Linked DNA regions of Homo sapiens: all the other regions are linked to region 2. Evidence: promoter capture Hi-C in 16 types of primary human blood cells and fetal thymus (Javierre and others, 2016). All regions are on one chromosome and are shown on one strand. The core of a region is centred on a gene start or on the middle of the fragment in contact, and the rest is flanking DNA. Distances in the headings are between cores, read along the strand shown.

What was found. Contacts are between HindIII fragments. The CHiCAGO score rates a contact against its expected background, and 5 or more counts as called.
Region 1: a contact is called between a fragment that was not itself captured here and the fragment with the promoter of GLYCTK in region 2, in 2 of 17 cell types (M2 macrophages and non-activated CD4 T cells). The highest score is 6.3, in M2 macrophages.
Region 3: a contact is called between a fragment that was not itself captured here and the fragment with the promoter of GLYCTK in region 2, in 7 of 17 cell types (activated CD4 T cells, total CD4 T cells, non-activated CD4 T cells and 4 more). The highest score is 7.2, in activated CD4 T cells.
Region 4: a contact is called between a fragment that was not itself captured here and the fragment with the promoter of GLYCTK in region 2, in 2 of 17 cell types (M2 macrophages and erythroblasts). The highest score is 6.2, in M2 macrophages.

The regions. Positions count from the first base shown.
Region 1 is chr3:52,146,738-52,152,514 of GRCh38, reverse strand. POC1A (POC1 centriolar protein A) reads left to right here. Exons shown (of 11, transcript NM_015426.5): 2 at 1,415-1,499; 3 at 2,528-2,699; 4 at 3,126-3,305; 5 at 5,420-5,527. Among named protein-coding and RNA genes, the nearest start is that of POC1A, 4.8 kb to the left of the region's middle. The HindIII fragment of the contact is 1,584 bases long and covers 1,839-3,422 here.
Region 2 is chr3:52,283,865-52,289,834 of GRCh38, reverse strand. It overlaps GLYCTK (glycerate kinase), which reads right to left and starts at 2,007. Exons shown (of 5, transcript NM_145262.4): 1 at 1,959-2,007. It overlaps GLYCTK-AS1 (GLYCTK antisense RNA 1), which reads left to right and starts at 102. Exons shown (of 1, transcript NR_046719.1): 1 at 102-1,255. LOC107986086 (a long non-coding RNA gene) reads left to right here and starts at 1,815. Exons shown (of 3, transcript XR_001740699.2): 1 at 1,815-2,002; 2 at 5,244-5,307. RefSeq lists enhancers at 2,240-2,349, 1,176-2,375, 1,681-2,422. The HindIII fragment of the contact is 11,873 bases long and covers 1-5,970 here.
Region 3 is chr3:52,044,855-52,051,157 of GRCh38, reverse strand. It overlaps LOC124906238 (a long non-coding RNA gene), which reads right to left and starts at 4,929. Exons shown (of 2, transcript XR_007095908.1): 1 at 3,836-4,929; 2 at 2,200-3,339. It overlaps DUSP7 (dual specificity phosphatase 7), which reads left to right. Exons shown (of 3, transcript NM_001947.4): 3 at 36-2,239. The coding sequence ends at 343. RefSeq lists an enhancer at 3,639-4,838. The HindIII fragment of the contact is 4,073 bases long and covers 1,999-6,071 here.
Region 4 is chr3:52,467,546-52,473,603 of GRCh38, reverse strand. It overlaps NISCH (nischarin), which reads right to left. Exons shown (of 21, transcript NM_007184.4): 4 at 2,697-2,745; 5 at 1,627-1,790; 6 at 1,206-1,301. Among named protein-coding and RNA genes, the nearest start is that of NISCH, 15 kb to the right of the region's middle. RefSeq lists an enhancer at 1,870-2,370. The HindIII fragment of the contact is 3,132 bases long and covers 1-2,903 here.

The DNA.
Region 1 (5,777 bases), core at 1,381-3,880, 140 kb after region 2:
CACTACAACCTCCTCCTCCTGGGTTCAAGCGATTCTCCTGCCTTAGCCTCCCAAATAGCTGGGACTATAGGCGCCCACCACCACGCCTAGCTAATTTTTGTATTTTTAGTAGAGAGGGGTTTTCACCATGTTGGCCAGGCTGATCTTGAACTCTTGACCTCAGGTAATCTGCCCGCCTTGGCCTCCTAAAGTGCTGGGATTACAGGCGTGAGCCACTGTGCCCGGCTAACTACTTTTTTTTAGTCAGGGTCTTGCTCTGTTGCCCAGGCTGGAGTGCAGTGATGTGATCACAGCTCACTGCAACCTTGAACTCCTGTGCTCAAGCAGTCCTCCCACCTCACCCTCCTGAGTAGCTGAGAATACAGGCATGAGCCACTACGTGTGGCTAATTCTTTAATTTTTTTGTAGGGTCAGGGTCTTGCTGTGTTGCCCAGGTTGGTCTTGAACCCCTGGCTTAAAGTGATCCTCCTGCCTCAGCCTCCCAAAATGTGGGGATTACAGGTGTGAGCCACTTCACCTGACCTATGTTTAACTTTTTGAGGAACTGCCAAATTACTTTCTATAGTATCTGTGTTTTTTGTTTGTTCGTTTGTTTGTTTGTTTTTAAAGATTTTTTTTTTTTTCTGGGTGTCTTGCATTTTCATGTGAATCTTGGGAGCAGCTTGTCAGTTTCTGCAAAAAAGACACCTGGGATTTTGATAGGAATTATGTGGAATCGGTAGATCAATCTGAGGAGTATCGTAGTATTGTATCTTAACAATAGTAAGTCTTCCTGTTCATGAATGTGGAATGTCTTTCCATTTTTTAAGTCTTCTTTCATTTCTCTTAGTGATGTTTTGTCGTCTTTACTGTACAAGTCCTGCACTTCTTTTGTTAAATTATTCCTTTTTTTTTTTTTTTTTTTGAGACGGAGTCTCGCTCTGTCACCCAGGCTGGAGTGCAGTGGCACAATCTCTGCTCACTGCAAGCTCCGCCTCCTGGGTTCACACCATTCTCCTGCGTCAGCCTCCTGAGTAACTGGGATTATAGGCGCCTGCCACCATGCCCGGCTAATTTAAAATATTGCTATTTTTTTTATGTATCATAAATAGTTTTATTTTTTGGATTATTCATTGCTAGTGTACAGAAAGACAATTGATTTTTGTGTCTTGATTTTGTATCTTGCAACTTTGCTGAACTCATTTGTTTTTTGTTTTTGTTGAAGCATTTCCACAGTTGATGTATTAATTCAAATAGTAAAAACTATTCCTAGTAAAAACTAATCCTAAGTGGATTCCTTAGGATTTTCTTTATATAAGATCATGCCTTGAGCATTTTTAACCCTACTCCCCCGGCTGTTGTAGGAAGAGTGCTGGCCCTGGGGAAGCCCCTTCCTCACCCAGGCTTCACACATTTGACCCTGGCTCTCTCTCAGGAGGACCCCTCGCTGGAAAGGCATTTTAAGGGCCACCGAGATGCAGTTACCTGTGTGGACTTCAGTATCAACACAAAGCAGCTGGGTAAGAAGAGGCACCCTGTCTAGGTGCTAGGTTATGAGCTGAACAGGCCAAGTTTTTACCTCGGAGGGGTGGTGGGTGGGAAGCAGAGCACAAGGACTGCACAGCTTTGTCTAGACCTGCTTCTAGTCTTGCTTCTGCTTGCCAGCTCTTTGGGCACTGGGCTTCATGAGCTTCATTTTACATGCAGAGCCTGAGGGTCAGAGAGGTTAGGGGCCTTGCTAAGGCCACAGAGCTTTTGAGGGTGGGACTGGGATCTGGGTCTTTTCTGCACACCCTAGCCACCTTTTGGGTCTGTCTTTTGGTGTGGGCCCTAAACAGTGACTCCTTTTCCTTGAAGCTTTACTGATTCTGTTGCCCACAGTAATAAGGCACACCTTGTTGAAGAGCCTTGTCAGTGAGAAGGCTGTTGAGCAGAGATGGGCACCCCCCTCGACCCCACTGCTCTTATGCTGCAGCTGACTGTCCCCCTTCCTTGGTTGCATGAGGTTTCGTACACAGCTTTTATGACTGCGCTTTCTGGTTCCTGCAGAGGAGGCTTGCCCCTTCATCCTGTCATCAAGACCCTCTGATGTGTAAAGGTTAAGAGGGAACTGAAGTGATTTTTGATCAGTTTTGGGGACCTCCTTTAGGCTTCATACTGAGTTGGGCCCTCTCAATGGGAGGGGCTGGCTTCCCAGCTGGGGAGGACTTGCTCTCTGGTGCCCTCAGGATGTGTCTGGGGGGAGACCCTGGGCCCCATGGGAATGAGTTTTCCCAGAGCTCTGGATTGCAGTCCAAGGCTAGCATGGGAAGGGCCTCGGTCTTATTCCCATGTGGGTGTGCTCCTTGGAGAACTCTGGGCCACAGGCTCTCCACCTCCAGACCATACCTCGAGATGTGCTCTGCTCCATGGGAGACTTCTCACGGTCTGTTTGTGGATGCCAGGGAAGATGGAGCTGGGCCAGTTGCTCCCCCTGCCTCTCCAATGTCTTGGTGGAGGCTTGAAGCCTGTTAGAGCTGTAGGTCATAGCATCACCCACTGTCCTCAGCCAGTGGCTCCATGGACTCATGCCTCATGGTCTGGCACATGAAGCCGCAGTCACGCGCCTACCGCTTCACTGGCCACAAGGATGCCGTCACCTGTGTGAACTTCTCTCCTTCGGGACACCTGCTTGCTTCCGGCTCCCGAGACAAGACTGTCCGCATCTGGGTACCCAATGTGTGAGTCGTACACTTTGAGGAGGCTTGTTGGAGTCTGGGGCCCTGGTGCCAGAGCCATCCCCACCCAGGTCCCCTAGCTTGGCTCTGGACTGGTCACAGTGGGACTTCTACTCTGCTTTGGAAGAGGTGCCATCAGAGGCTGGGGCTGCAGTTGGAGCCCTCCCCTCAGGGTTGGAAGAGGAGTTCTGGGCTTACCCAATCTATCCCTAAAGAAATGCCACCTGATGCTGTGTTCATGTGGGTGGGGCCTAGAGATGGTGCTCTGTTCATATAGGAGAGGCTCTGGCTTTCCCTTGTGGAGACTGGGGTACTCGGGCTTGACTGACTTTGGGAGGGGTGCTTGAGGAGTAGGAGAGCTTTGATGTGCTTGTGGGCTCTCATGTCACTGTTATGGGTTTCCTTACTCTTGGATGCCTGTCCTTGTAGCAAAGGTGAGTCCACTGTGTTTCGTGCACACACAGCCACAGTGAGGAGTGTCCACTTCTGCAGTGATGGCCAGTCCTTCGTGACAGCCTCTGACGACAAGACAGTCAAAGTGTGGGCAACTCATCGCCAGAAATTCCTGTTCTCCCTGAGCCAGCATATCAACTGGGTCCGCTGTGCCAAGTGAGCATTGTTCTGTCTGGAGACCCTTGGAGGAACCCTGGGGGTTGGGGGCTGGCCCAGGGGCTGCTAGGTACCAACTTATGACCTCGGGCAAGTTACTTAGGCATTGTTTAAGCTTCCTCAGCCTCGGTTTCCTTATCTGTAAAATGGAACAATAATAGCTCCTGCATTGTAAGTTGTCGAGAAGCTTCATGGAGCTGATGCATGACATGTAAGTTAGTCCATAGTCAGCCATGATGACCCTCTGACATCTGTGTTGGCAAAGCACAAACTGGGTCAACAGGGGCCATTTATTATCAAAAACAATTAGGTACTTTCAGTACTACCATTACACATTTTCTTTTTGTTCCTTAAGACAGTTCTGCAAGCTAGGTGCATTTCCATTTTGCAGATGAGGAAATGGGGGCTCAGAACAGTAGTATCTTGTCCCAGAGCACACGGTGGGTCTGTGGCAGAGCTGGAGTTTGAACCCAACTCTCTCTGACAGTAAGGCTTGCCTACTTTCCTCTGGGATGTTCTCAGGGGATGATTTTGCTCCAGAGCTCCCAGATGGGGGCGCAGGCTTCGGAGATGGGGGGCTTAGCCTGGAGGCTAGCCTTCCTGCTGGCCAGGGAGCCAGTGCTGTGCAGACAGCGGGCCAGGTAACCCAAAGGACCTTTCAAGGTCCAAGAATTGCAGACAGATAGTCCTACTTCTAGCTTATTTCATTCCTTTCAACAGAGCTTCCCCATGGGTCAAATATCTTTGCTTCAGAGGAAGGGGTTGGGGTGCCAGGTGACATTAGGAAACCACATGAGTCAGAAGTTGGGGACTATTGAGCTGTGTTCTTCTGGGGACCCCATACAAGTTACTGTTCTCCAGGGCACCCCCATTCCTTTGTCCTGGGAGACCCCTGATGGCTCTTAGAGGCTTTATGACTAGGGTCCTGAGATCAGGAGGGGCCAGGCCAGCAAACTGGGGTGTCAAGTCCATACTGGGCCTTTGGTGGCAGTCCCCAGGACCTCATGCCTTTTGTTGGCAGATTGTGTCTTGCTGACCCGCACTTGAGTCAAATGTAGACTCGGAGGACCTGGTCCCAGAGTAATGACACTGATGGTGAGCTTTTGGCCACCTTTATGCAAATGTTGCCGGCAGGCAGTCGGCTGCATGTTGCCATGTGCTGTGCGTCAGGGGCAGTGCTGGGGCTTTATGTGCATGAGGCTGCTCTGTGCTCACTCGTGAGGCAGGCACCTTTTTTTTTTTCTTTTCTTTTTGTTTATTTATGTTTGGTTTTCCTCTAAGTCAGGAAGAATTTCTCTTTTTCCCTTTTGGTCAGAGTTTGCTGTTGGGATGGGAGAGGGGCTATTTGCTCATGAAGCTACGTAAGAAAACGAAAACAAGAGCAACAGGAAAGATCAATAAGTTTCACAGATTCAGGAAGAAAAAAATAAAGGAAACATTTTTATAACATTTAAAATTAAGTCATAGGCCGAGCTTGAAGGTGCATGTCTGTAATCCTAGCACTTTGGGTGGATGAGGTGGGAGGATCCTTTGACTCCAGGAGTTAGAGGACCAGCCTGGGCAACATAGTGAGACTCCCATCTCTACAATAAAATAAAATAAAATAAAATTAGCTGGGTGTGGTGGTGCACGCCTGTAGTCCCAGCTGCTCAGGAGGCTTAGGTGGGAGGATCTCTTGAGCCCAGGAGGTAGAGGCTGCAGTGAGCTGAGATCACACCACTGCACTCCAGCCTGGGTGACAGAGCAATACCCTGTCTAAAAAACAAAACAAAAACAAAAACAAAATTTAGTCACAGTTTCCTGAAAAACTCTTCAGAAGGAAAAAAGAAAAATGATGTGCTAAAAGTTAACTATTTTCAGAAACAAAGTATAATTTAAGATATGACCAAATAAACAGAAGTAACATTGCCTCCTAGGATGCAATGCATTTGTTCCTGAAAAGACAAATTAGGGTATTCAAATTAAAAAAAAAAAAATCACAGCAGGGCATGTGACCCCGGGTGGTTCCTGCAGGCAGATAGTAGGCACTCGGGGAAGAGTGGCTGTGGAAGAAGGTGTGTGGTGCCCATGTCGTCTGTTAGTCTGTGATGTGACTTGTGCCCCACCCGGTTCAGGTTCTCCCCCGACGGGCGGCTCATCGTGTCTGCCAGTGATGACAAGACTGTTAAGCTGTGGGACAAGAGCAGCCGGGAATGTGTCCACTCGTATTGTGAGCATGGCGGGTGAGTCCCCAGATGCTGTCCTCCACCTGTAGGCGCTCAAGCACAGAGCACAGACCTGGGCATGAGGAGGCCCAGTGGCCTTCAGTGGCTGGAGCCGTGGGACCAGCAGCCTTATCACTGCTGCCCCTTGTCTGGTGCTTTTTGCGAGGTCTGGCAACCTAGCATTGTATCTTTTGCTGTGTGGATGGAAGCTTTGGCCCCATCCCACAAATAGCAGGAGTGCTTAACCTCAAGCCATGCAATTCTTTGG
Region 2 (5,970 bases), core at 758-3,257:
CACCAACTGACCCTGAGCCCATTGACCTCCAGTCTTCTCTATTTCATTATCTCATGAGACTGGGATTAGGAGCCTGGGAAGTCAGGGTCTATAGGAGGCTGCAGGTTTATCAGGTCAAACCCAGAACACATCCTCAGGGCAAGCAATCTGAGGAATCTCAGTATGCAGGACCAGTTCAGCAAGAGGTTTAGGTTCAAATCAGGAGTGAGGGCAAAGTCTGGCTCATGGTGGAACCTTAGAAAAGTCCCCAGGCACCATGTGAGGCCATGTGCCATGAAGCCCAATTGCAGGACAGAAAAGGATGCCCTTCTACCCACACAGTTGGCCAGACCCAACCCTGCCAAGAACACGCCTTCTGGTTCCAAGATAACAAAAACAAGTCCTAGGTCACACCACCCACAGTGGTGAGAGCCCAAGGGCTGAAGTAGGCAAAGGCCAGGCTCCCATAACTGAGCCCATAGCCATTTTCCCCACTGGGCAGAGTAAAAGCTAAAGAAGCCTTGGGGCGAAGGTCAGGAAGCTGTAGAGGGGTATAGGAACAACAAAGACCCAAACAGCTCATCTGTACTACATATGTACTATTGCATCTACTTTAATAAATGCCTACCATAAATGTTGCAAGCTGACTTCATCAGCAAGTATGGACTGAGCAGGGTAAGGAGGCTGGGAATTGAGGTTCCAGCTCTACTATAGGCTTTCTGAGTGGCTGGGACACCTCCATTTCTCTCACTGGGCCTCATCCGCAAAATGAGACATGGGGTGAGATTAACACTACGCTCTTCCCTTAACAACCTCAGGCTCTCTGATACTGTCCACTGCAACACAGATCTCAAACACCGGTTTACCCCACACCCAAATATGGTGGTTACTTCTAGACTTTGACCATTTTGCTTGCCTAGTTCTCAGCTCTCCGGTAAGAAAAGACAGCCATGCCTGACTTCTGTTGTGAAAGGGAACACAGAGGGCATCGTCATGGGGATTCCGAAAATGGGTCCAGTTTTGGCCAGGGGGACCCCTGGAGCTTGCCCATTGGACTTGGAGCTAAAAGCATCTTAGCAACTAAGACAGCCGGTCTTTATAGCCTGGATGAAATTTGTATCTATTTCCCAGATGGACAAGAGCCTAGAAGATCCCAGCCTTGCCACTGGGTATGAGCACAGGACAGGGGGACGCTCAATGCTAAGGCTGCCAGAGAAAATACAGGACTTCCGGTTAAATTTGAATTTCAAATAAACAAGTAATTTTTAAAGTATAAGTATGTGCATACAATGTTTAGGACTTAACAATTATTCGTCGTTTATCTTAACTCAAATTTAACTGGACGTGGCCCGGCGCAGTGGCTCACGCCTGTAATCCCAGCACTTTGGAAGGCTGAGGCGGGCGCATCACCTGAGGTCAGGAGTTCGAGACCAGCCTGACCAACGTGGTGAAACCCCGTCTCTTCTAAAAATACAAAAATTAGCCGGGTGTGGTGGGCGCCCGTAATCCCAGCTACTCGGGAGACTGAGGCATGAGAATCATTTGAACAGGGGAGGCGGAGGTTGCAGTGAGCCGAGATCGCGCCACTGCACTCCAGCCTGGGTGACAGAGTGAGATTCTAACTCAAAAAAAATGTAACTGGACGCTTTGCATTTTTATTTGCTAAGTCCTCCAATTCTATCCAAGACACGGTCTCTCCGAAACTCCGGGAGGCTCCAGAGCAAAACAACGGAAATAGGAAGACTACCGGTCTTGACTCCTCCCCGCCATCAAAGAAGGCTGGTACCATTTCCGGCTTTCCCTAGACAGTAGGGGGCCGGAAGTGACGTCATCCTAAGGTAGGGCCTTAGCGAGGGAAATGGCTGCCGCGTAATGCCCGGTGATGCGAGAAAGAAGGGCCTGCTGCCACCAGGACCCGTCATCGCCCAGCCCAGGGACCGCTTCTGAAGGCCATGCGAGCCCTGGCGGCGCAGACTTACCAGCCCACAGCTCCGGCCGCGGTGCCCAGCGCTGGAGAACGGAAGTACTAGGGGGTGGGCGGAGCGGAAGCCGGAAGTGTGGGTGGGTGGAGCGGCGCAGGCGGGTGCGAGCTCTGGCTGAAGCCGGTGTCCGGGAGGGGAGAGTTTAGCATATTGGCTCTTTGCTGGCCACTGACAGACCTGGAAGGAGTCACCTTCAGTCCTCATTTTTTAAATCTCTACATTGAGGGTAATAATCCCCGCCTCACCGATTGCCGATTTTTTTTTTGAGACGGGGTCTCATTCTGTCGCCCAGACTGGAGTGCAGAGTCGCGGTTTCGGCCCAATGCAACCTCCGCCTCCCGGATTCAAGCGATTCTCATGCCTCAGCCTCCCGAGTAGCTGGGATTACAGGCATGTGCCACCACTCCGGGCTAATTTTTGTATTTTTTAGTAGAGACGGGCTTTCGCCATGTTGCCCAGGCTGGTCTCGAACGCCTAACCTCAAGCGATCCACCCACCTCAGCCTCCGAAAGTGATGGGATTACAGACTTCAGCCGCCGCACCCGGCCTCTCCCTTCCTTTATCCTGTACGGTCAGTCAGCAGATGCACCCTGAGTGTCAGGCACTGACTGGGCTGAGCAAACGAACTGAGAATCACTACTTCCCCACAACTCACCCCTTCTGGAGCCAGATTAAGTAATTCCCGCTCCTCTCCATGGCTTTTATTCCACAACTTATTATTGTTCTTCCCTCTCCCACCATGGGCCACCAAATACAGCTCTGGCTTAGCAAGAGTTCCATTCTGCGATCCTCAAGCACATAAGCGGCATGTAAACGCTAATGACTCTGGGCCTACCTCGCTGTCCCTACTCTCATCCGGGGCCTACCCTGTGTTGGCTGGATGCCTTCCCACATTCATAAGATGAGTCCTGATCAGACTCCAAAAATACAAAACAGTTCACTGTTTTTACTGATGTTTTCTTAGGGAGATAGAGGAGAGAGTTGCATCACAAATCACACACTTGATTTCCTAACAATTTTATTGAAACATGTTTCTTGGCAGGGCGCAGTGTTTCACGCCTGTAATCCCAACATTGGGGAGGCCAAGGTGGGCGGATCGCTTGAGCCTAGGAATGCGAGACCAGCCTGGGAACATGGCGAAACTTATCTCTACCAAAAAAAAAAGAGCCAGGTGTGGTGGCATGCTCCTGTAGTCCCAGCTACTCAGGAGGCTGAGATGGGAGGATCACCTGAGCCTGGGAGGTAGAGGCTGCAGTGAACCTTGATCACGCCACTGCACTCCAACCTGGGCCCCTGTCTCAAAAAAAAACCAACAAACAAAAACACATTTCTTTCTCTTGGTTTTGAGGTGGAGTCTTGCTCTGTCACCCAGGCTGGACTGCAATGGCACAGTCTCAGCTCACGGCCACTGCACTGCAGCCTGGGCACGATGTCGGCTCACTGCAACCTCCGCCTCCCAGGTTCAAGCAATTCTCCTGCCTCAGCCTCCCGAATAGCTGGGACTACAGGCGCCCGCCACCACGTCCAGCTAATTTTTGTATTTTTAGTAGAGACAGAGTTTCACCATGTTGGCCAGGCTGGTCTCGAACTCCTGACCTTGTGATCCACCGCCCTTGGCCTCCCAAAGTGCAGGGATTACAGGCGTATAAACAATTACAGGCGCCCGGCCTATATAAACAACCTTCATCTTTCCCCATGCTGGAGAACACTAATTGCCACTGCTTGGTGTCTGTGTTTCCCTGGATGGCTGCCCTCACACTTTATGCTTGAATAAATTCTTTTAACTGGATATCGAACCTTTTGATGATTTTTAGGTTGACATTAGAAATGTGTTTTTGGGACAGGTGCAGTGGCTCATGCCTGCAATCCCAGTACTTTGGGAGGCTGAGGCAGGTGGGATCATTTGAGGTCAGGAGTTCGAGACTGGCCTAACCAATATGGTGAAACCCCATCTCTACTAAAAAATACAAAAATTAGCTGGGCATGGGCCGGGCACAGTGGCTCACACCTGTAATCCTAGCACTTTGGGAGGCTGAGGCAGGTGGATCACCTGAGGTCAGGAGTTCAAGACCAGCCTGGCCAACATGGCGAAACCCCGTCTCTACTAAAAATACAAAAATTAGCTAGGCATGGTGGTGTGTGCCTGTAATCCCAGCTACTGGTGGGGCTGAGGCAGGAGGATTGCTTGAACCTGGGAGGTTGCAGTGAACCGAGATTGCGTGACTGCCCTCCAGCCTGGGTGACAAAGCGAGACTCCGTCTCAAAAAAAAAAAAAAAAAAGATTGTTTATATAGGCAAAAACAGGAGTGCTGACCAGAATTACAACATTTTCCAAAAAAAGGCTAACATAAATACAAGATTTGGTTGGCTACTATTGATTATACTGGAAGGAGTTTGCTTAACATTCTATTGTAAAGAGACAACAATCACAAGGGTCTCTATCTCCCACATCATCTAGTCTAAGTCTGAATGAAGAATAGGGAGCCTGGTTAATGTATAACATTTCAATACAAAGATCAGGAAGCAGCAGTCATGCATCAGAGAAGAAAAAAAAAAAGCAATGCCTGCTCAGTTTCCAGGGCTTCACTTTTCTCCTTCACATTATAAATTGGGAATGTCCTAAAATTTTATTTTCTTTTCACACCCCCTACCTGCTCCCTTTGGCAGTTGCTACATCTCTCCTTAGGTCTCCAAACCATGCTGTGCTCTTGTCATGAACCTTTCCCTTCCTCTGGCCCCCACTTCCAGCTCTCTCCCTGGATTTTTCTTTTTCTTATATATACATATATTTTTATTTGAGACAGGATCTCACTCTGTCACCCAGGTTGGAGTTCAGTGCCATCATCTTGGATTATTGCAACCTCCACCTCCGAGGCTCAAGTGATCCTCCCACTTCAGTCTCCCAAGTAGCTGGGACCACAGACGTGCACCACCACACCCAGCTAATTTTTTGTATTTTTTGTAGAGAAGTGGTTTTGCCATGTTGGCCAGGCTGGTCTCAAACTTCTGCGCTCAAACCATCTTCCTGCCTCTGTCTCCCAAAGTGCTGGGATTACAGGTGTGAGCCACCACACCCGTCCTTCTCCCTGGATTTTTCCTTTTAAAATATGAGACTTTGTATTCCTTCTCCTAAATGATTTCCCACCACATCATCAAAACAAAGGCATCCGTAGGTGGAATTGCCCTCTTTAATGTGGGAGAGGTTGTAAATACTGAAAATTTTATTGTTTTTTCTTGGTTATAGTCAGCTATATTCCTTCCATGCATTTATTCCTTCCTCAGACATAATTCAAGACATTTCCTGAGTGCCTTCTGTGTGGGCCGAATGCTGTAGCTGCTGGGATAGGTAAGAAGTGGTACTTTTAATTTTAATTTTTTTTTGTTTTTAGGAGACAAAGTCTCACACTGTCGCCCAGGCTGGAGGACAGTGGTGATTACAGCTCACTATAGCCTCAACCTCCTGGGTTGTAGCGATCCTCCTGCCTCAGCCTCTCAAGTAGCTGGGACTACAGGTGCACACCACCATGCCTGGCTAATTTTTTGTGGAGACAGGGTCTTGCTTTGTTGCCCAAGCTGGTCTCAAACTCCTGGGCTCAAGCAGTTCTCCTGCCCCAGCCTCTGAAAGTGCTGGGACTATAGGTGTAAGCCACTGTGCCCAGCCTGGGCTTGCAGGGTTACTCCGTGGGAGGGAAGGTCAGCTGTGTTGGAGGCAGGGTAAAGTGGAGCTGTGTCCTATGTAAGGGCTGTACAACACCTTAAAACTGGGAGGCCGAGGTGAGCGGATCACTTGAGGTCAGGAGTTTGAGACCAGCCTGGCCAACATGGCAAAACCCCGTTTCTACTAAAAATACAACAACAACAACAACAACAACAACAACAACAAATTAGCCGGATGTGGTGTCACGCACCTATAATTCCAGCTACTCGGAAGGCTGAGGTGGGAGAATTGCTTGAACCCAGGAGGTAGAGGTTGCAGTGAGCTGAGATCACACCACTGCACTCCAGCCTG
Region 3 (6,303 bases), core at 2,786-5,285, 240 kb after region 2:
GAGGCACCTCCCTGACCCATGCCAATGTGTTTCAGACGAAGCCCGCTCCAAGAAGTGTGGTGTCCTGGTGCACTGCCTGGCAGGCATCAGCCGCTCAGTGACGGTCACTGTGGCCTATCTGATGCAGAAGATGAACCTGTCACTCAACGACGCCTACGACTTTGTCAAGAGGAAAAAGTCCAACATCTCGCCCAACTTCAACTTCATGGGGCAGCTGCTGGACTTTGAGCGGACGCTGGGGCTAAGCAGCCCGTGCGACAACCACGCGTCGAGTGAGCAGCTCTACTTTTCCACGCCCACCAACCACAACCTGTTCCCACTCAATACGCTGGAGTCCACGTGAGGCCTGGTGCACGGGGGGCATGGCACCAGGCCCCTGCTCGGCTCTCCACAGGGCTAGGTGGGAGAGCCCAAGCCCGCCACCTCTGGCCTGAGGAACCCCCAGATGTCACCTGTGCCCAGAGGCCCAGGCTGATCGGTGTCGGAGCGCCCCTCACCATCCTTGGGGGCAGGGCCCGCAGGCAAGGTCTCCCACTGCAGGGCTTGCTGGAGAGGCCTCGGCTCTTGGACACGTGGCTTTGGGCGTCCACCAGGGCCTCATCCTGTCCAGGACGCTCCTTTCTGCTGACAGCCCAGCCAGTTTGGCTGTTTTTTAAAGACACATCCACGGACCTGAGTTTACTTTTTACTTTTGGCAGGTAAATCCAAGCTCCCTGGAGCACAAAGAGTGTTTGAGCTCTTCTTGATTTTTCTTTTTTTTTTTTTTTTTTAACAAAAAGTGTTATTTTCAGGCTACATGCAACAGTGGATTGTATAACCCAGTATTTCATCCCTTTCCTGATCCTGCAAGAGAGAGAAATGTTCAGTTTTGTTTTTCGTTCAATTTCAAAAAGCAAGTATCGTGTTTGTTTTTGTTTTTGTTTTTTAATGGAAAAGACAGACGCCATGTTGACCTTGACCAAATGCGTTTTGCACATGTGTGAAGCCTCTGTTTCCTCAGCGGGCCCTTCTTGAAGGGGTGGCTTACTGCTCTTCAGGTATTGGGACCCCCAGTCGTGCCGCCTCCCACCCTTGGCCCAGTCTGACTTAGCTCTGCATTCGCCTGTGATGACTGCTGCAAGTTGTGATTGGTGGGCTGGATGGTGGTCTTTGCATTTTCTGCCGTCTCATCCATCCCTCTGGTGGTCCCTGCAGACCTCCCTGAGGCAGAAGGTGGGGACCCTGGGGCCCTGCCGCTGTCCCCCAGGAGGTGGGCCGCAGGGGGCTGCCAGGCAGTAGCATTAGCCCTCTGGGGTCAGCCCCTAAGAAGGCCTGGGCTCTGAGCCCTTTTATATACTTAGCCACTACTTCTGTCTGTCTGTCTGTCTCTCTCTCTTCCTCTCCCTCTCTCTCTTTCTCTCTCTCCCTCTCTCTCTCTTTCTTTCTCTCTCCCCCCCTCCCTCTCTCTTCCTTTCCTCTCTCTTGTTGTAACTGGGAGTGGAGGCCCAGTGGCTGGGGAGACATTAGGTGGTGGGGCCCAGCCCGACCTCCAGGTTCTTCCTTCTCCCTAGCTGTTGCTTTGGTCTGGCCACTCCCAGCCCCCTTGTCCCCTTGGAAGCTTGCCCTGCCCTCATCTTGCCCATGCCTTCTACTGCCAGGAGACTTGCACCCATTTCAACCCTAGGGCGGGGGCAAGTGGGGCAAGGATGGACCAGCAGAAGGGGGGTAAGGCTCTGTTCACTTCCCCCTGCCTCCACAGAACGAAGCCACGGATTCCGTTATCTTCCTCCAGTTTTGTTCCTTCTCCAGCCTCAGTTCCACCAGGTGTCAGGACTGCATGGGGGCCTGGGGCAGGCAGAGGAGTCAGGCCAGGGTCCCTGACGGAGCAGCACTCAGCATGTGAGTGAGGCCACAGAAAAACTCTGCCCCACTGCTTCTTACCTCACGGGGGTGGCTTTCAGGGATTCTTTAGCGCAGCAGATTAAAATCTTGCCACAGTCGAGAAATTGACAACAAGCTTCCATGCTGTACATGGTTCTCTTTTTCTCTCTTTTATTTTTAAAAAGAAAACCCAGAAAGATGTACCAGATTTGTGTAAATGAGGGTATGCCAGAAGGTGGCCAGTTTTGCTTTATGATCTTATGAAGGAAGATTTGTGACCCTACGTATATATATACACACACATACATATATATATATATCCCGAACCAACAACGGGACTTTGTTTATATTGCAAATAAATATTATTTTTTCTTTAAAATGAGTCGTGTCCGATAAGGGCTTGGGGCCTGGGAAGGAGGGGAAGGAGTGCTGTCGACAGGCATCCTAGTGCCTGCTCTGTGTGAGGCACTGGCCTGGTTCTGCTTGGGGTCTGCTGGCCACTTAGACTAATCAAGGTGCCCCGCAGATGGGAGGGAGCAGCCACAGTTTCTGGATGAAGCTGGGGCAGGTGGCATTTCCCCAGCCCTTAGGCACTGGCAGGCAGAGGCATCAGGGCTTTCTCTGTGGGCTTCTGCTGAAATCAAGGCTTGGAGAGGTTGTATATACCAAGTTGACACAACTGAGTCCTGACTCGCCCTTCATTGTCTGAGGCTGTCTGCTTAGGCATTGCCCAGATTGCAGCCCCCAGGACCCTAACTCTTTCTCTTGCTGCCGTGTGGGTGAGAGGGGAATGTGCATTTAACCCTGCCCCTGCAGGTCCTGAGATATCAGTGGGTAGTGACAGGTCAGCCCTTCTTTGCTTCTTAAGGGCTGGGTGGCCTTGGACAGGTCCCTTAGGCCGATTGCACCTGGTTCCTGAGTGCTTTTCAGCTTTGTGGCATGAAGAGCACATTATTGGCCTGGGCTCACAGGGAGGAATCAGCCGTGCTCAGGCGTGTACAAGGAAGGGTGGGCATGGGCCTCTGTCAAGGCTCCCCTGGGGGTGGGGGTCTAAGCGAGGCCCTGGGCTAGAGCAGGGAGGAGGTCTGGAGAAGGATGGGGGCCACAGTCTGGGGAAGTGAGGCCCCAGTGGACAACAAGCCCCGAGTTACAGATCAGGAAATGGAGGCTCCAGAGTGGCTTAGGTCTCCCTTGCCTCTGGCTGGATCAGGTGAGCCCCAGTCAAGGACTTAAGAGGCCTGGAAGCTGACTCAGTTTCCCCATTTCTGACATTCCCCAGCTCTATCCCTTCAGCAAACTGTGTGATCAGCACTGAGCTGGATCCAGGTGGAAGGTAGGTAGGTAGGGCCGAGAGGGTGAGGGCGGCTCAGCCTGGGACTTGCTCTGTTGGGGTGCCCAAGGCTCTCCTTCTCTTCTCTCCCTCATCTCTGCTCTTCAGTTAGTCTGCACCAGAACGCAGTCACAACCATCATGCGCAGCCTGTGGAGAGGGGTAGAGGGCAGGTTCTGCCCACTGTGGGGCCTGGGTGCAAATCTCAGCTGTGTGACTGCAGTCCCTCAGTTCTACCCCCTAACACTCCCATGTGGAGCGTGGAAGAATCCTGCCGCTCAGCCGGCAGGCCTCTGTGGGTAGGAGGGGGCTTCTTGCTGCATCCTCGACAAGGGGGCGGTGCTGCTGTTGCTCCTGGGCTCCCTCAGGGCCCTGTTCCTTCTGTGCCAGGGGCAGGCAAAGGGGGTGGGGGCCTGAGCAGGCAGAGACTGGGCCTTTGTTCCCTCCTGCTGCCCTCGCCCAGGCCTGGGGAAGCCCGCGGGTGCTGGGCTGGGGGCTGGGCCCTCGACAAACCGAGTAAGTGCCTGGCAGTGCCAGCGTGCCCAAGCACAGGACGGGGTGGGGGTGGGAGTGGCAGCCGCCTCCTGAGCCGGCTCTTCAGACGGAGGACTGGGACTGCCTGAAGAGGGCCAGCCCCGCCACTTACCCCTGTGCACTCTGGGGCCAGTGGTCTCTCTGACCGTCTGTGTCCTCCTTACCTGTAGAAATTCCTACCTCAGCACTGGGCCTGGCTAAGGTTCCCTGCTGGGGGACAGAGGGCCAGGTCATGGCTGAGAGGCTGGGGCCCTGGGTCCTTGCTCTGTGACCTTGGGCCGGGCCACGCTTACTGGACTGTGGTCCCCCACCCCTGGGTTTTGGGCTCCCATCTCATGGCCCCGTGTCCTGAGCTCCTCCTATCCCACCCCGTTTCTGCCATGCTCTCCCCAGCGGGCCCTGCTTGCTTCAGGCCATCTGTGGCTGAGGCCCTCAGCGCAGCCGTCCTGAGCTCTTGGACACTTGGCTCTCTGGGGGTGCACCTGCTTTATCTCTGTCCCCAGTCCTGTTGCTCTCTTGAGCCTGTTTGCCTCCTTGGTCCCTGTTTCTGCCTCCGTTTCAGCCTGGACCCCGGGGAGCTGGTCCACTCCTTAGCCGCTTAGTGTTCCCATGGGAGGAGGATCCAAGACACTTACTCACTTGCACATTCATCCAGCAGCCATTTCCTGTGCCGGCTGGGCAGTCCCAGGGAGGGAACATGCCCGAGGGAAGCTCGGTGATGTCACACTGGGTGGCAGGATAATGGGGCCCTCAACTTGTCCTCTGATAAATGAATCAAGTGCAACATGAGGACTGACTAAGGCTGGATACGAGGAAGCACTTGGAGTGCTGTGGAGCGATGACCTTGAAGGGGTTCCGACAAGACCGCAGGAGAGATGAACATTTCCCTAGGGTGGTCCCGCTCTGAGCCTGGGGGCAGAGGGAGCCCTCAGGAGAGGGCCCTGCTCTGCCTGCCACCCCCACAGGGCCCCTCCCCAGAGGAAAGTCATTCCTCATGAATGGACCAGGGTGGGGGTAGGTGGCAAGCCTGCACTGGAGCCTGCCCCTCCCTGCTACTGCCCATGTGCTGTGCACCTGGGCCAACAGCATGACTGCACTGTACCTCCCTCTGTGTCAGAATGGATGTGTCTGGGACACCAACACCTACCCCCAGATCCTTGGCAGAAGCCAGAGGGCCTGATATGGGAGCCAGCTTTCTCTGTAGGGAGCACAGTAGCATGTTAACCTCTGGGTGCCCCGATGGAGGGTGTTCAGGTCCTGATCCTTGACATCTTTTCCCCTGCTTTCTTTGGGCCCCACCAGGACACAGTGCTCTCACCTGACTCCTGAGACCCAGCCTACCTGAGAGCCCTGGGAAGGCTCGGGAATCACTCTGCTTCCCAGCCCTGTGCTGATGGGGAAGGTGAGGTTTGCAGAGGGGTGTCATAGAGTGAGGCAAGGTAGAAGCTGGGCCCCCCACCCTGCTGCCCTGAGGCTTTTCACTAGGCCCTGGCTCTGTGAGGGACCAGACACACACACACACACACACACACACACACACACACACACACACACACACACACACACACACACACACACAGCTTTGCCATCCTCTGACTAGACAAGCCCATGCAGGTCTCATAGCAATGGAGGAGCCGCCTGCCTGTGACTGTAGCCTCCTCTCATCAGGGTGTGTCCTGGGTGAAGTCATCCCTTTCCAGGCATGGTCATTAAAGACTATCATTAGCAACTCTTAGAGGCCTTGGCCCCATTGTCTCTGGCTGGGTCAGATGAGCCCCCACAGGTGACCGTGACACAGACTCCGGCCCCTTGCTAGAACCTCTCTTTGCCCAGGCAGCCAGCCCCCTTCCCAGGGCTGTCCTATCGCACACTTCCAGGGGCCATTGTCTGCCGTGTAGCTTCCGTGCATGTGTGGGGTCTCCACACGCCTCCCTCCATGCCTTCAACTCCTCCTCTGGCCTCAGGGCTGCAGGCAGAGGAGAAGCTGCAGTGCCTTTCCACAGGGCGTCATGGGCCAGGGAGGAGCCTCTTTAGGGGACAGGGGAGCCCCTAGAGGGCATCAGGCACAGGGCTGATGGGGTCTGGCTGTCACAATGAAGATCTAGTTGGTGAGTGAGAGCGGCCTGAAAGGCAAGCGCGCAGGCCAGGGGACAGGGAGGAGGCCAGGACAGTAGTTGAGGGTGGGTCAGGAGTGCTGGAGAGGGTGTGGGAAGGACACATCTGCAGACCAGCAGGACTTGGGCCCCATGGGAATCAAGACCCATGGTGTGAACAGAGGGTCCCAGCTTGTCTGATGCCACATCCACAGCCTGAAAGCCAGCCGCTGTGCCTCGCAGAAGGATTAAGCTTAGCCCGGGCATGCGTGGGCCCACGGGACCCCGAGCCCCCACTCACCTCCCCTGAGGGAAGCTTGCCTCACCCTCATTGTGCCACCACATGCTAGGCGCCCAGGGAGAGCCAAGGGGCCCCAAGATCCTTAAGCGTCCTGGAAGTCCCCCAGGACAGCACAGCCCTGACGGCCCATCTCAGAGCCTCCGTTTCCTCATCTGTACAGTGGGGATAAGAATTGCCAATTCAAGA
Region 4 (6,058 bases), core at 88-2,587, 180 kb before region 2:
ACTCAAGACCAAAGTGTCTCTTTTTCCCAGTGTCAGTGCCGACCAAACATTCCCTGAAGTATCTAGTAAGAAAGGTGCCTGGCCCCTCAGACTCACAATGGACCACAAATTCCATTTCCTCTGTAAGGGCTGCCTGGGGCTTGGCAGGTGAACATAAAGTGTGGGTCATGGAAACTGCTGGGGAGAACAAGGGGCCTCCACAGCACAGCGAGTGGGGTGGATCCTCCTGTTCACCCAGCCCCCACTCCATGGAACTGAGCTGTCTTGTGGTGAGGAGGGGCAGGCCACAGGTCAAAGCACACTCCCCAAGCCACCTGCCCAAGCACACCCAAGACCCAGATCCAGAGCCTCAGCCTGCTTGGCAGGGCTGGGTCGGGTTTCCCCTTCACTTCCCTGTCCTCAATCGGCAGCAGGGCACACCACAAGTTTCCCTAGACCACTGTAGACGGAACAGCCCAGTGCACAGCAGAGGCTCTGGAGGCAGTCTCAGCTGAATTCAAATCCCAGGTTTCCGCTCATTAACTGTGTGGCCCTGGCCAAACTTCCTTATCTGCCCAAGCCTCAGTTTCCCCAACTGTAAAATGGAAATAAAAGTGCCCTCTTCACGGGGCTGTTGGGAAGATTCAATCAAGGAGACATGGGGCCACAGGGCAGAACACAAAAGCCATGCTCAAAAAATTATGCTTTAAAACTTTTTTTGTATTCATTACTGACTTTTCTTTTCAAAAATGCTAAAATTGGCATCGCAAACCAAAGAGTCCAGTAGTGACAGATGCAGAGTGTTTCTTGTGTGGGTGCCCCAGAGGGCAGGGCATCTTCAAAGCTCTTTGCCAATCGGCCTTGGGAAATACAGACTTGTATTTAGTTCTGTCTGACCCCCAGGATGACTTCCCAGGACTTGAACTTGAGGTACACATGCCCCCTGCCCCTATGAGGAGTCCTAGAATGAGCCAGGTGCTGGTGCTCCACCCTGGCTAACCGCCCCTGCAGCTCACGCCAGGGAAGGTGTGTGCAGACCAGCCAGGGACAGGAGAGGCCTCTCTTTCTCCGCCTTCAGAGGGCCTGGTCACCTACGCAGAACCTGTCACATACTGCCAAACACGAAAGCACAGCACCTTATGATTAAATTAGGACACCCAACATCACAAACACTCTCTAGCCTCTGAGTTGGGAGCGAGAGGATGCTGTGCAGCGCTGGGCCTTACCTCCACCTGATGCAGGGACTTGAATATTGATAGGTCGAACGGCAGGAGCTGCTCCTGAATGTTGCTGGTCCCAAAAGGTCCTTCTGTGCCAGAAACCTGAAGCCAAAGATAAGGCTTAAATTGGGAACAGTGTCGCATGCCCATCGGGGAGTGCTGCAGCAGCTGACAAGTTGAAGACAACTTTGACCACTTCTGTCTTCAACAAAGCAGGCTCAGGCCAGGACTTAATTTAACGGGACACTGGGTCACGACCGCCCCCTGGTGCCCACAGCCAGAAGCATAGTGCCAAGAATAACCGGGCGGCCTTCCTTCCACCAACAGTCCCCCATGGTCTCCTTCACACAAACTGCCAGCCAGTCCCCCGCAGGTTGCACCCCCACCGACTGCGGGGCTCTCCATGACTGAGCTGCTGCAGCTTTACCTTAAGGTACTTAAGGCGACAGGTGAAGTCCAGGATGTGCCCGAGGTCGGTCTTGGCATCCCCACTGGCGCACGTGGGCTTTCCCTGCTGCAGCTGCTCCGTGACGGCATACAGCTGCAGGGGTCCAATGGCAAAGACCTCGCCGGCCCCCAGGAGCTGTTCTCCTGCAAGAGCCATGCCCTGAAGGATAAGTGTCCAGCCGCAGCCCCAGCCCTCGTGCAGCCAGGATTTCCACCTTTTCTGTCAACAAGCAGTTGGCAAGCACCCACTGTGTCAGGGCAAAGCCAGCGCCCTGGGCATGCAGGAGCTGCTGCCCTCCTGGGTGCCTGCTAGGCACAGGGCAACCCTAGACATGTGATGACAGAGGAGGGCAGGGCTGTGGGGCTGTGAGGCTGGGGAGCCACTGAGGGAGGAGTGAGGCCGAGTCGAGACCAAAGGCACTGGGCCAGAGTGAGGCTGCGGAGAGGGACAGCATTCTGGGTGACACACCTATGCTGCAACCTCCGAAATGCAAACACCCAGGTCAGGCGCAGGCCTATGGTGCCAGCGTGGTGCAGAGCCTGGAAGCAGGATGGGTTCTGAGCCCAACTGACTGCTGCTTGGTCCTCGCTCCACTCCTCCCAGCCATGTGCCCTCAGGCTGGTGACTGGGCCGCTGACCCCGTATCCTTCCCTATACCTGTGGCTCCTGGGGGAAGGCAGTAAGATGCAAACAGGAAGCATTCATCACACATGAGCTACTATAACTGTGCTCTCTGGCAGGGATGGGACCCAGGGTCAGCTTCTATCTGCCATCTGAGCCCTTTCAGGTAAGCACAAACCAGGTGCGAGGGAGCAGTGTGCTACCCACCTTCCAGCACCCACCACAGCGCTTTGGAACACAGCCCAAGTCTGGGCTGAGCCCCTGACATGGTACTCAAGAGTACTGAAGGACCACAGCTCCTCAGACCTGGCCACCTACAGGGGAGGTAGGTGGGCTCCAGAGTGACTTCTATGCCATCCTGTGCCTCTGGCCGCCTCATAAAACTACACAACTTATGCTCAGTATTTCAGGGACATGTGGCCACATACCTTTCTCAAAGAGCTCTTCAGCCAGTGCCGCGGTGATGCCATTTATCTCCTGCAGAGAACACAAAATTTGCCCTTAGAAAGTCCACCTGACCCCAGTCCCTGGGGTCACATTCCCCGCTATCTATCCCCTCTGTTGTGCCAGTGCCATCTCTCTAGGAAGTTAAACTAAAGAAAGGAGGGCATAAACCTACAATGAAGCAAGAAGCTTAGAAAGGGAAACTAAGTATTCTAGTTATGTGGATACCTGAAATGTCTCCTCCAAAGCAGAAGGGAAATCAGCCTAATGCTGCGACTCCAGTCCATAGGGCCAAGGGCACTGTAGCCCAGGAGGCCAGCAGAGCTGCATTACTCTAAGGGCTTTTGGGAAGCCAGCAGCTCCCAAAACTGGCTCTGGGTGTTCCTAGGAGAGGGTGTGGCAGAGAGAAAAGTCCTGTTTTTTCTGGAAGAGAGGCTCTTATCACCCTGGTGGGATGAAGGACCACCCAGAGCTAACCCTCCCTGGGAATGACCATTTCCACTTCCTCTCACGTTTCAAATGTGTCTCAGGAAAAGAGTGAACACTTGTTTTCTTCTTGTGTTCATCCCTTCCAGATTCACAACAGTAACACTCAGCCCCAGGGTCCCAAGAAAGAAGCGGGAAGGATTTCCTTTTTAAATGATGTGATGAAGGGCAGGACAAGGCCAAGCCCCCAGTCATACAAACAACACGCTTGGATCCTAATTCATACTGGGTCATGCCCTGAGCCACTGAAGGCTCCTGAATCCTCCCAACATCCTACAAGAGGAAAAGCGATAACTGCTTTTTTTTTTTTTTTTTTTAAATAGAGACAGGGTCTTGCTCTGTCACTCAGGCTGGAGTGCAATGGTATGACCATAGCTCACTGCAGCTTGGAACTCCTGGGCCCAAGTAATCCTCCTGCCTCAACCTCCCAAGTAGCTGGGACTATAGGTGTGCATCAGCACAACCTGCTTTTTTTTTTTTTTTTCTTTTTTGAGACGGAGTCTTGCTCTGTTGCCCAGGCTAGAGTGCAGTGGTGTAATCTCGGCTCACCGCCACCTCTGCCTCCCAGGTTCAAGAGATTCTCCTGCCTCAGCCTCCCAAGTAGTTGGTAGTACAGGCATGTGCCAAGATGCCCAGCTAATTCCTGCATTTTTAGTAGAGACAGGGTTTCACCATGTTGGCCAGGCTGATCTCAAACTCCTGTCCTCAAGTTATCCACCCTGCCTCAGCCACCCAAAGTGCCAGGATTACAGGCATGAGCCACTGCCCCTAGCCAACCAACTAATTTTTAAGAAAATATTTTGTAGAGACAGGGTCTCACTATGTTGCCCAGGGTGGTCTTGAACTTCTGGCCTCAAGAGATCCCCCCACCTCGGCCTCCCAAGTTGTTGGGATTGCAGGTGTGAACCACTGCACCCAGCAACGGAAGCTTCTATCTTGAGCTCCGTTTCACAAATGAACAACCTGAGGTGGACAAGCGCCGACACCCTCAATTTTACATGGCTAAAAACCAGCAAAGCCACACTCAAGCCCTTGGCCTTGGGCCTCTGCATATGAAACCCGTTGCCTCAGCAGTTCAGTGTAATAACTGTGGGGTTGGCAGTGCCCCCAAGGCCCTCAGCCCCCCACCCCCACATCCCACAGGTAGGAATTTTAACTCATCGACAGATGGCAGCCAACAGGCCTTTTCGTAAACAGCTCCAGATGGAGGCTGCATAATCCTCATAACTCACAGGAACATTGGGAACATCGCTTCCACCAGGACAAGCAATTCACGTGTTTATGGGATTCTAAAGACACAGGAGACAGGGTGTCCTTTTCCTGTTTTTCTCTTGGGTTGTTTGTCTCTTTCTTATCTTTTATACACTGTGGCCATTTTAATGGTGGTTTATATGTTGTAAACATTTCCTCCCAGTCTGCATATACCTTTTACCTTTGTTCATGGTGCTTTTTCTGACAGAGGTTTTTCATTTTTACATTGTTTAACCTCTAATTTTTTTTTATCCTTCATGACTTCTTGGGCCTCTTCTCTCACTCCACAATTATAAAAATATTCTCTTAATTTTCTTTTGGTTCTTTAAAAAATGTGTTTATTCATTTAATCTGCTTGAAATTCAGTTTATATACAGCACGAGAATAACTCCTCCCTGTATCCCGTGGACAAAAAGCAAAGGGAGCAAAATGAGCACACAGAGCCACAGCTTTAAGGGACCGGCAGGGTGCAGGGCCGAATGGAAAAGGGCAAGGAGAGGGGCACGGCAGGCACAGAGCAGGACAGGGCTCCGGCTGGAAGTGAGGGCAGAGGTGGTGGGTGTGCTCTGAAGTTCAACTTCAGTCTCTTGCAACCACATAAGCTAAATGACATTTTCCTTGGCAGCTGTGAAGAACTGAAGATTAGGAAGAGCCTCCACGGATGGTTTTGAAAACCACGCCCCGTCTACAGATCTGTACTTCGCAATCCTCCCTGCTGTCAGATCGCCTGGAGCCAAGCAGGTCCCAGGGGCTGCCAATCTCTGCCCACCTCAATTCCCCAAGAATAGCTCCAGGGCCTCTCAGGACACAAGGCTCTTACAGTTATCTCAGGAGAAAGGGTTCCCCACGATCAGTACTGAACAAACCTCATTTTCAACGGCACACTTCTTTTTTTTGAGACGGGGTCTCGCTCTGTCTCCCAGGCTGGAGTGCAGTGGCGTGATCCTGGCTCACTGCACCCTCCACCTCCTGGGTTCAAGTGATTCTCCTGCCTCAGCCTCCTGAGTAGCTAGGATCACAGGCCTGCACCACCACACCCGGCTAATTTTTGTATTTTTAGTAGAGATGGGTTTCACCATGTTAGCCAGGCTGGTCTTGAACTCTTGACCTCAAGTGATCCGCCTACCTTGGCCTCCCAAAGTGCTGGGATTACAGGCGTGAGCCACCACGCTCGGCCAATGGCACATTTCTTCAAGTAGCTGGTGTCAGCTCAGAAAGAACACAGAGAAAAAAAATCACCCTGGGCTAGGCATGTAGTCCCAGCTACTTGGGAGGCTGAGGCAGAAGGATCACTTGAGCCCCTAAGTTCAGAGTCGAGCCTGGGCAACACAGCAAGACCCTGTCTCTCTAAAAGAAAAATGAAATCACCTTCCTGGATGACAGCCCCTCTAAGGGGATAGGGCTGGAATTTCTGGAACACATGGAAAGTTGAGAGAAAGTAAGGGCCACCGGCTCCTGCTAAGCAAAGAGAAAGCTTTCACTTCTAAGGAATCTCAAAGCAATTTGTGTAACAATTTTGCTCTTTAGGGCACAGAAGTACATACTGCTGCAACACTTTCTACTTGGTTTTCCAGGCTGTTTTTCACCTTGGGAGGGAGACTGAACCAGA